Linked DNA regions of Homo sapiens: region 1 is linked to region 2. Evidence: promoter capture Hi-C in 16 types of primary human blood cells and fetal thymus (Javierre and others, 2016). All regions are on one chromosome and are shown on one strand. Each heading gives the region's core, a stretch centred on a gene start or on the middle of the fragment in contact. The rest is flanking DNA. Distances are from core to core; before and after follow the strand shown. Region 1 holds the start of NABP2 (nucleic acid binding protein 2). Region 2 holds the start of SMARCC2 (SWI/SNF related BAF chromatin remodeling complex subunit C2).

Region 1 (3,895 bases), core at 1,032-3,531, 35 kb after region 2:
ACTCTAGACAGGAAGTCTAGTCTAGAGTCTATATGGTCCCAGCCAGGACTATGTAGCCATTTAGGAGGGAGAACTCTATGTTCTTCCCGGCAAAAACGTGTGGGCCTGGCCGGCCACGCTTCGCTTTGGAGGGGTGCAGGTGACTTGTGTCTTAGAGCTGACGCAGATTGTTGCGAGATCATTGCGGAGAGGCAGGCCTGCAGCGTGACCTGCTGCGGGTCCGGCCCCTCTCCCTTTTCCAGAGCCCTGGTCAGCATCCCAGAGCTTCGTAACCCCTTGACTCCTGTCATGGGAATGGATATTGCAGTTAACAAGGCGGCCGCGGGGTGGGGAGTGAGGGAGTCTGACCGCAAAGCTTAGATCTGGGGTGCTCAACGGGTTGTCTGCCTCTCTCCCAGGCGCTCTCCTGCCGTATCCACGATGGCTCCCCGAACACTTGTGGAGTTCCCTGAAACACCTAAGAGGAAGGAAGGGAGAAAAAATTTCCCTCTTCCTGAGTTGGGGTTTGATTTCCTTAGCTTACAACACCGTGGTGTTGGGGATGTGGGCGGTAGAGAACGTGGGATCCAAGGGAAGTCAATGTGGAGCCTAAAGAGCTCCGTGAGCAGATAAGGGATTAATTAAGCAAACCAAGGCATTACAATCACATGACTTCCTAGACTAATCTGGTATTAAATAGTATGGTATTTATTGTGGACATTGGCTAAGCAAATGCTAATGCACATTAATACACACATACACACATATCTTTATGTAATTTGTTTATACACAACAATACAGAGCTAGCTACCTTTTGTGGACAATTTGACAGGTCCCAAAAGGAACTAAAGTTTCAGGCCTCCTTTCTGCTGTCTTCTAGCGGGACTCTGAGATAAGTAAGATAAGAGTAGTATGGCCGGGCGCGGTGGTTCATGCCTTTAATCCCAACACTTTGGGAGACCGAGGCTGGTGGATCACGAGGTCAGGAGTTTGAGCCCAGGCTGGCCAACGTGGTGAAACCCCGTCTCTACTAAAAATACAAAAAAAGTAGCCGGGCGTGGTGGCGGGCGCCTGTAATCCCAGCTACTCGGGAGGCTGAGACAGGAGAATCGCTTGAACCCGGGAGGCAGAGGTTGCATTGCAGTGAGCCGAGATCGCGCCACTGCACTCCAACCTGGGCGACAGAGCAAGACTCCTTTGCCGGGGTGGAGCGGTGGGGCGGGGCGGGGAAGAGTAGTATGGCCAGGTGCAGCGGCTCACGCCTGTAATCCTAGCACTTTGGGAGGACGAGGTGGGCGGATCCCTTGAGGTCATGAGTCCGAGACCAGCCTGGGAAACATGGCGAAACTGTCTCTACAAAAAAAATACAGAAATTAGCCGAGGGTGGTAGTGCGAACCTGTAGTACCAGCTACTACGGAGGCTGTGGTGGGAGGTTGCAGTAAGCCAAGATTGCACCACTACACTCCAGCCTGGGTTACACAGCGAGACCCTGTTTCAAAAAAAAAAAAAAAAGGGACTAACAATGTTTCTCTCTTTGTCGCAGGTTCCATTTCTTCCAAGAAGGGTGAGCCTGCCTTTTGTCTCTGGTGTAAATGCCACTTTTCCCAGAGACCTTGACCAAGCTGGGTAGTGCATTAAAGATGAGAACCCCAAATCAGGAACAAAGATAACGGTTAGAGCAATAAAAAGGGAGGAAACCGTGTGTGCCTACTGTGTGCAAGGCACTTTTTTAAATATAACTTCCGTTTTCTCGTAAGATGGAATTACATATTTTTTGTCTTTTTTTCCCTTTTTGTGGAGAATGGGGTCTCGTTATATTGCCCAGGCAGGTCTGGAACTCCTGGACTCATGCTATCCTCCAGCCTATGCCTCCCTACGTGCTGGGATTACAGGCGTGAGCCACCGCGCCTTGCGGAATTGGAATTACATATGTTTAAATAGTCGAGAAATGAAGTGAAGCATTGAGCCAGGATTCAAACTTTTGTCCGCCAGATTCCGAAGCCCTTGCTCCTTTTCCCATTGTGTCACTCTTTGGAAAGAAACGTCTTAGAACCTAAGTGCATTCTCCCTAGCCAAGTTAAGGAAAACTGGGGGCCCTGTGCGCCTTCTAGTGGTGGATTTTTCCCCCTACAGAGCCAACTATCTCCAAGGTTCCTTTAATACCTGAAATTCGCCCCCTTCGCGGCGCACGAGTCTCTGATCCCGATTGGCTGGGCAGGGCAGGCGGCGGGACGCAGGGCGCGCCCGGGCGGTGCTGATTGGCCGGAGGAGGCCAGCCGGGGGAAACTTCCGGGAATGTCCGCACTCCCGCGTTCCACGGGGCAGCATCCGGCGGCAGCGGAGCCTGTGGCTCCCCCTGCGGGCTGCTCAGCGGCGTGCACAGTCCTGCCGGCTGGCTTGGGTGGGTGGTGGGCTGCGGGTAGGGGAGGGGATGGACCGAGTCCCGGCTTGTCGGGATGAGGGTTCCGGAAGATCTGGCCAGTAAGATTCTACTCCCTGGCTGTGCACCGGGTTCCCTACCCCTGTCTACGTCGGCTCCGCCACTTCGCGGCTTGAGACTAAAAGAGCATCCCGGCAGGGGGCCTTCCAGCCCCAAAGCAGCCTGTCCAGAGACCCCCAAATTCTGATCCTGAAGTTGGAGGCCTCCGGGGATGTTCTTTTTTAATCTTTTAGAAGGGTTAGAGGGGTTGAGGCTGCCTGACCCCAGCCTAATGGGGTAGGTAGGCCTTGGGAAGTGGAGCATGGGGGCAAAGGATCCAAGCATTGAGCCTTCATCCTCTATTCCCCATCCAGTGGGGTGCCGAGGCTCAGGCAGCATGACGACGGAGACCTTTGTGAAGGATATCAAGCCTGGGCTCAAGAATCTGAACCTTATCTTCATTGTGCTGGAGACAGGTGTCTATACTGGGGTGGCGGGTTCGCGGGATGGGGGTCGGGGGCAGGAGGGGAAGAACGCTGTCTGCGTTCTTAACTTGCTATGGGGATGGCAAGGCAAGCTGCAAGACACTCCTCACTCCCAATCTCTTCGACCCTGGGACAGAAAGTTGCAGTCAGGTATAGGGTAGATAGAACTCTTGCCAGATCTAGACCTCCTGTGCGACGCGGGCCTCTTTCCACTCAGGGCCCTCTCCATGGTGCTGGCCCCTGAACTCCCACCTCCACCCTCCACCACCCCTTCCACAATCCCAACCCTTTATGCCCCAGGGATTTGGGCTTTCCCCTGTTTGTACACCTTTTCCCTCATTCCACCAATATCCACATCTCATCCTTCTGAGAGATACCACTCCATTTATTTGACCATCCTCCCACCTCGATTTATCTGTTCCGTTCAGGCCGAGTGACCAAGACAAAGGACGGGCATGAGGTTCGGACCTGCAAAGTGGCGGACAAAACAGGCAGCATCAATATCTCTGTCTGGGACGATGTTGGCAATCTGATCCAGCCTGGGGACATTATCCGGCTCACCAAAGGGTAAGTCAGCTGGTGACTTCTGGCCTTCCAAAGGCAACAACAATCAAGAGTGGGGTTAACAGTCCCTATAACACTTCTGAGTACTGAATTTTGCTTTTTTTGCCTCCCATAGGTACGCTTCAGTTTTCAAAGGTTGTCTGACACTATATACTGGCCGTGGGGGTGATCTGCAGAAGATTGGAGAGTAAGTGCTGTCTTGGGGATTGGGATGAAGAAGCACCAGGGCAAAGGGGTTTGCAAGGAGGCAGCATAGGGTGTGCAGTCCAAGCCTCATTTCTGGACTTTTTCTGTTTGTTTGTTTGTTTGTTTTGAGAAACAGTCTCTGTCGCTCAGGCTGGAGTACAGTGGCATGATCTGGGCTCACTGTAGCCTTGACCTCCCGGGGTCAGGTGATCCTCCCACATCAGCCTCCCAAGTAGCTGAGACTACAGGCGTGCTTCACCA
Region 2 (4,164 bases), core at 805-3,304:
ATTTAGTCTCTATAAAGAAAATGGCAAAAGGGAGGCCCTGGACACCCCAACCAGGAAGCTGAAATTCTGCTGCCACCAGCCCAGGTGGCCAGTGTTGGGGGGAACAGGGAAGCTTACTACTCTTCCTCAGTTATACTCTGAAATTGGAGTTGCAGGACCCTATTATCTTGGCACCTCATCTTTAACCAACAGCACTGAGGGTTGTAAAATTCTGGAGGTTTATAAAGTTCAGGTCATGGAAGCAATACCTCTGGGGCTCTAAGAGAGACATTTCTTAGGGGAACTCTGTAAAGCCATGATTCCCCCTATAATGTAGCCTAACAAGAAAAGGTACAAGGAAGTGAAGGAGGGCAAGTTGACTGAGTGAGCTTGTGCATTTTGCTTCTGAAGACTGGGTATAAATGTCTTCATAGGCCCTCCTAGACAGGAAGGGCCATCCACTACCCAGCCTGATGGAGAAGAGCAAGACAACATCTACCCTGTCCGAGGAAACTGTATCTGAGACAAGTAACCCTGGCCCTACTTCTATGTTTCCACACTCTGCTACCTAGTAGCATCCTAGCCTTCCATTCTAATTTGAACCTGAGCCAGGAGACTTTCTTTTTACTTTTTGACCCGTTTTCTCCCCACTCATCACAAAGAAGACAGTGCCTCTCAGTGAGAGGTGAAAAGAGATAGATCTGTGAAGGGAAAGGTAAATGACAAAGAGCTAAGAGCATGGAAGCTGAACCAGGTCACAACTGTCAATTCCCCCAAGGCCGGAGGCTAAGCCCCTAGCCTGATCTCCCTGCAAAAGGTCAAAGGTAGAAGCCTGGGAATAAGAGCCTCTCACAGGCGTAGAGACATGCCATAGAAATAGCAGCTATTTGTCAGGATTCTCACACCCAGAGAGACCCCAAGGGCAGGGCCAGGCTCACAACCAGCATCAGTAGGAAGTTCTCCTAAGCCACTAAGCACACTTCTGACGAGCTGCAAAGCCGGCAGGAAGAACTGGGGAGCTGAAAGAAAGCCATAAAGAGAATCCCTCTCTGAGGGTAGTGAGAAAAAGAGAGGCAGACCATTTCCAGAGAAAACCAGGCCTAGAGACAAAGACGACACCAGGAAGAGGTTTGGTAGAAAAGACAGGTAAGGATTCTTGAACCTTTTGTTCACCACCTTATGATCTCCAGTTATGGGGTTTGGGTGTGAGGGGCTAGAGATAGGAAGCTCACCCTAACCTCTCGACCCCAAACCCAGGGTACTGCAAAGCTAGGTTGCAAGGTGACTTCATTGTAAAATCGAGGAAAGGTTTCGGAAGGGGCCGCTACCCAGGAACTCCTATACCCCGGCTCCCTGAGAGATTCTGTTGCCCCTTAGATGAAGGTGGGGGATGAGCGGCGGAGACAGGTGATCCCTGGGTGGAGACCTTTTTCAGGCTGATGAGCAGCCAACGGCTTGCTCTGTGACTGTTTACCCTCCTGCTTTCCATTCTCTCTCTCTGAACATACACAAAGCACCGGAGAGGCCTCAGCCCCGCTGGTACCTGGCTCCGTGGGGAGCTCTGGCGGGCACGCTCCGGGTTGCGGGGGAGCCCATTGGGCACCCGGTCCACACCCGGCCGGCCGCCTCTCCCAGAAAAGCCAGGAGGGCGATGGCTGAGGGGAAGGTGGGCTAATGGCACCGGGGCCCGCCGGGCAGTAGAGAAAAACAAGGGGCAGAGGGCGCAGCAGTGGGGGCGGGGGCTGGGCTCAGAGGCTGGGGGTGCGGGGAGAGGGAGGCTGGGGGAGGGGCGCGGGAGCGCAGGAGGGCGCGCGGGGGGCTGCTTGGGAGGCCGCGGGGGAGGGGCTGGGGCGCCTGGAGGGTAGGCAGGATCCCGGGGCTGCAGGGCCGCGGTCCCTTTGTCCCGCCCCCGGTCCCCGCGCGGCCCGGCCCGGCCCGCGTACCTTCTTGTAGTTCTTGCCGAGCCACAGCCGCACGTTGTCGAACTGGGTCACGGTGTCCGCGGCCTCGTAGTACTTCACGTTGGGGCCGCCGTCCTTCTTCCGCACCGCCATCTTCTCCGGCTCGGGCCCCGCCGCCGCCCGCCCCACTCAGCTCAGCTCCCGCCTCCTCCGCCTCCTCCTCCGCCCGCCTCCCGCCGCCTCCCGCCGCCGCGGCCGCCGCCTCCCGCCGCCTGGGCCGGCCCCGGTCCGCGCTGCGCCCCCTGCCGGCAGGCCGGGCGCGGCGGCGGAGCTCCAGGCGCGGGCCGACCCTGGCGGCCTCCCCGGCAGCGGAGGCGGGAGCCTCCGGGGAGAAGGACGCTTCCTGGAGGGGGCGCCATTCTCCTGAGATCGCTCTTACCAGACGCGAAGCCCTTTCCCTCTTTTTGCCTCAGCTCGGGAGTGTCACCTCGCTATCCCACTCCAGGCGGCCGCCAGTCGCTGGAGCAGCCCCAACCCGTAGACCCGAGTGGTCCTCACCTTGCGCATTCCTAACCCGACGAAGCCCCTCGTCCCCCAAAACCCCAAACCCCTTTCCCCAAGAAGTTCCTTCCTTCCATCCATTCACAGCAGCTCCCCATTTAAACTTTTCAGAGTCTCCCTCACTCCTCGCGCCTTGTCCACCCAGCACTCCCCTCACTTGTTAACCCAAATGTCCCCTAGTCGCCACCCTGGCGGCCCAGTGCCTTCCCTCAACTGCTTCCTCCGCAGGCCTCGCTGTCGCCTCCTAAGTAGGTGTGAGCTCCTACTCGAGACCCCGACTCTTCGCTAGGCAGGAGACCCTCCCTCCCTGGGTCACCCAGTCCATCCGACTCTTTTTCTTTGGGTGGCGTAGATAGGAGGTAAGGAACCGAGGGGTGGGGAGTCCTCAGGTGTGTGTGTGTCGGGGCCGGTACCCTGCTTCCGGTTCCCGCACGCATTCCCGGATTGCAGTGCGGACCCCTTCTGTAAGCGCGCGATAAAGCGCGGTTTTGGAAGTCACGGTGGCCGAGTGGTTAAGGCGTTGGACTCGAAATCCAATGGGGTTTCCCCGCACAGGTTCGAATCCTGTTCGTGACGGGTTTTTTTTTTTTTTCTTTCTTCTTCTTATTATTAAAAGGGAGTCTCGCTCTGTTGCTCAGGCTGGAGTGCAGTGGCGCGATCTCGGCTCACCGCAACCTCCGCTTCCCGGGTTCAAGCAATTCTCCTGCCTTAGCTTCCCGAGTAGCTGGGACCACAGGCATGCGTCACCATACCTGGCTAATTTTTGTATTTTTAGTAGAGACAGGTTCACCATATTGGCCAGGCTGGTCTCAAACTCCTGACCTCAGGTTATCTGCCCGCCTCGGCCTCCCAAAATGCTGGGATTACAGGCGTCGACTTTTTTAACCCCTTTCACAGCACATAAAGGTAACCCCAGTTCTCACACGTTTCTTTCGTGCACTTTCTCTCTCCAAAAGGGAAGCCGCCAAAAGGTCTTAACCCCTGGATTTGGGAGGATGGGAGTGATCTTGGGAAGTTTAATTATGCACGACTGTATTGGCTGCTAGACTGTGAGGCATTTTCAGAATTTTGTAACTTCAGGCTTCCTGGGAGAGCTTTGGCACATGTCTCATTCTTTTGAGGGCATAGGGAAGGATTTGGTTGAAGGGTTACATTTTGGGAATGTGAGTGGCTGTTTTGCAATATTAGTCAAACTTAGAGTTTCCTCTAAATTTCATGACCAGAAGTCACACCTTGTAGGTCTGATTACACCGAAGACCCAGGAAACAGGATTCTCTCATCTGGATTTCCTTGAGGTGTACAGGGCTAGAAGGGAGTAGTCTATTGAAACATCATTGCAGATCCAGTTAGAGCCAAGGTATGGGAAGATAATTCTCACTTTTTATTGAGTGCTTATTATGTGCCAGATACTGTTTTAAATTATCTATGTGTATTAACCAAGCAAGGAAATTAATCTCATCTTTAACCTTTAACCCTCCTATACTCATCTCACCCCATTTTTCCTATCCCCTAATTTCTGATTGTGGGGAGGATCTAGGCTGCTTGTTGAGGATTTTGTTGTTTGTTTTGGGGGGTTGTTTTTGTGACAGGGTCCCGCTCTGTCGCCCAGGCTGGAGTGCATTGGTGCGATCTCAGTTCACTGCAACCTCAAACTCCCAGGCCCAAGCAATCCTCCCTCCTCAGTAGCTGGGACTACAGGCATGCACCACCACGCCCAGCTAAC

Evidence for each region. Contacts are between HindIII fragments. The CHiCAGO score rates a contact against its expected background, and 5 or more counts as called.
Region 1: a contact is called between the fragment with the promoter of NABP2 here and the fragment with the promoter of SMARCC2 in region 2, in 2 of 17 cell types (endothelial precursors and megakaryocytes). The highest score is 14.5, in endothelial precursors.

Annotation. Positions count from the first base shown.
Region 1 is chr12:56,222,061-56,225,955 of GRCh38, forward strand. NABP2 (nucleic acid binding protein 2) reads left to right here and starts at 2,282. Exons shown (of 7, transcript NM_024068.4): 1 at 2,282-2,381; 2 at 2,774-2,875; 3 at 3,313-3,451; 4 at 3,564-3,635. The coding sequence starts at 2,797. RefSeq lists enhancers at 1-754, 54-273, 755-1,688, 1,105-1,399 and a silencer at 2,131-2,370. The HindIII fragment of the contact is 18,635 bases long and covers 354-3,895 here.
Region 2 is chr12:56,187,429-56,191,592 of GRCh38, forward strand. It overlaps SMARCC2 (SWI/SNF related BAF chromatin remodeling complex subunit C2), which reads right to left and starts at 2,055. Exons shown (of 29, transcript NM_001330288.2): 1 at 1,923-2,055. The coding sequence starts at 2,033. It overlaps TRS-CGA4-1 (tRNA-Ser (anticodon CGA) 4-1), which reads left to right and starts at 2,936; the gene lies at 2,936-3,017. LOC107984468 (a long non-coding RNA gene) reads left to right here and starts at 3,264. Exons shown (of 2, transcript XR_007063330.1): 1 at 3,264-3,798. RefSeq lists silencers at 1,792-2,011, 2,082-2,361 and an enhancer at 2,602-2,701. The HindIII fragment of the contact is 5,408 bases long and covers 111-4,164 here.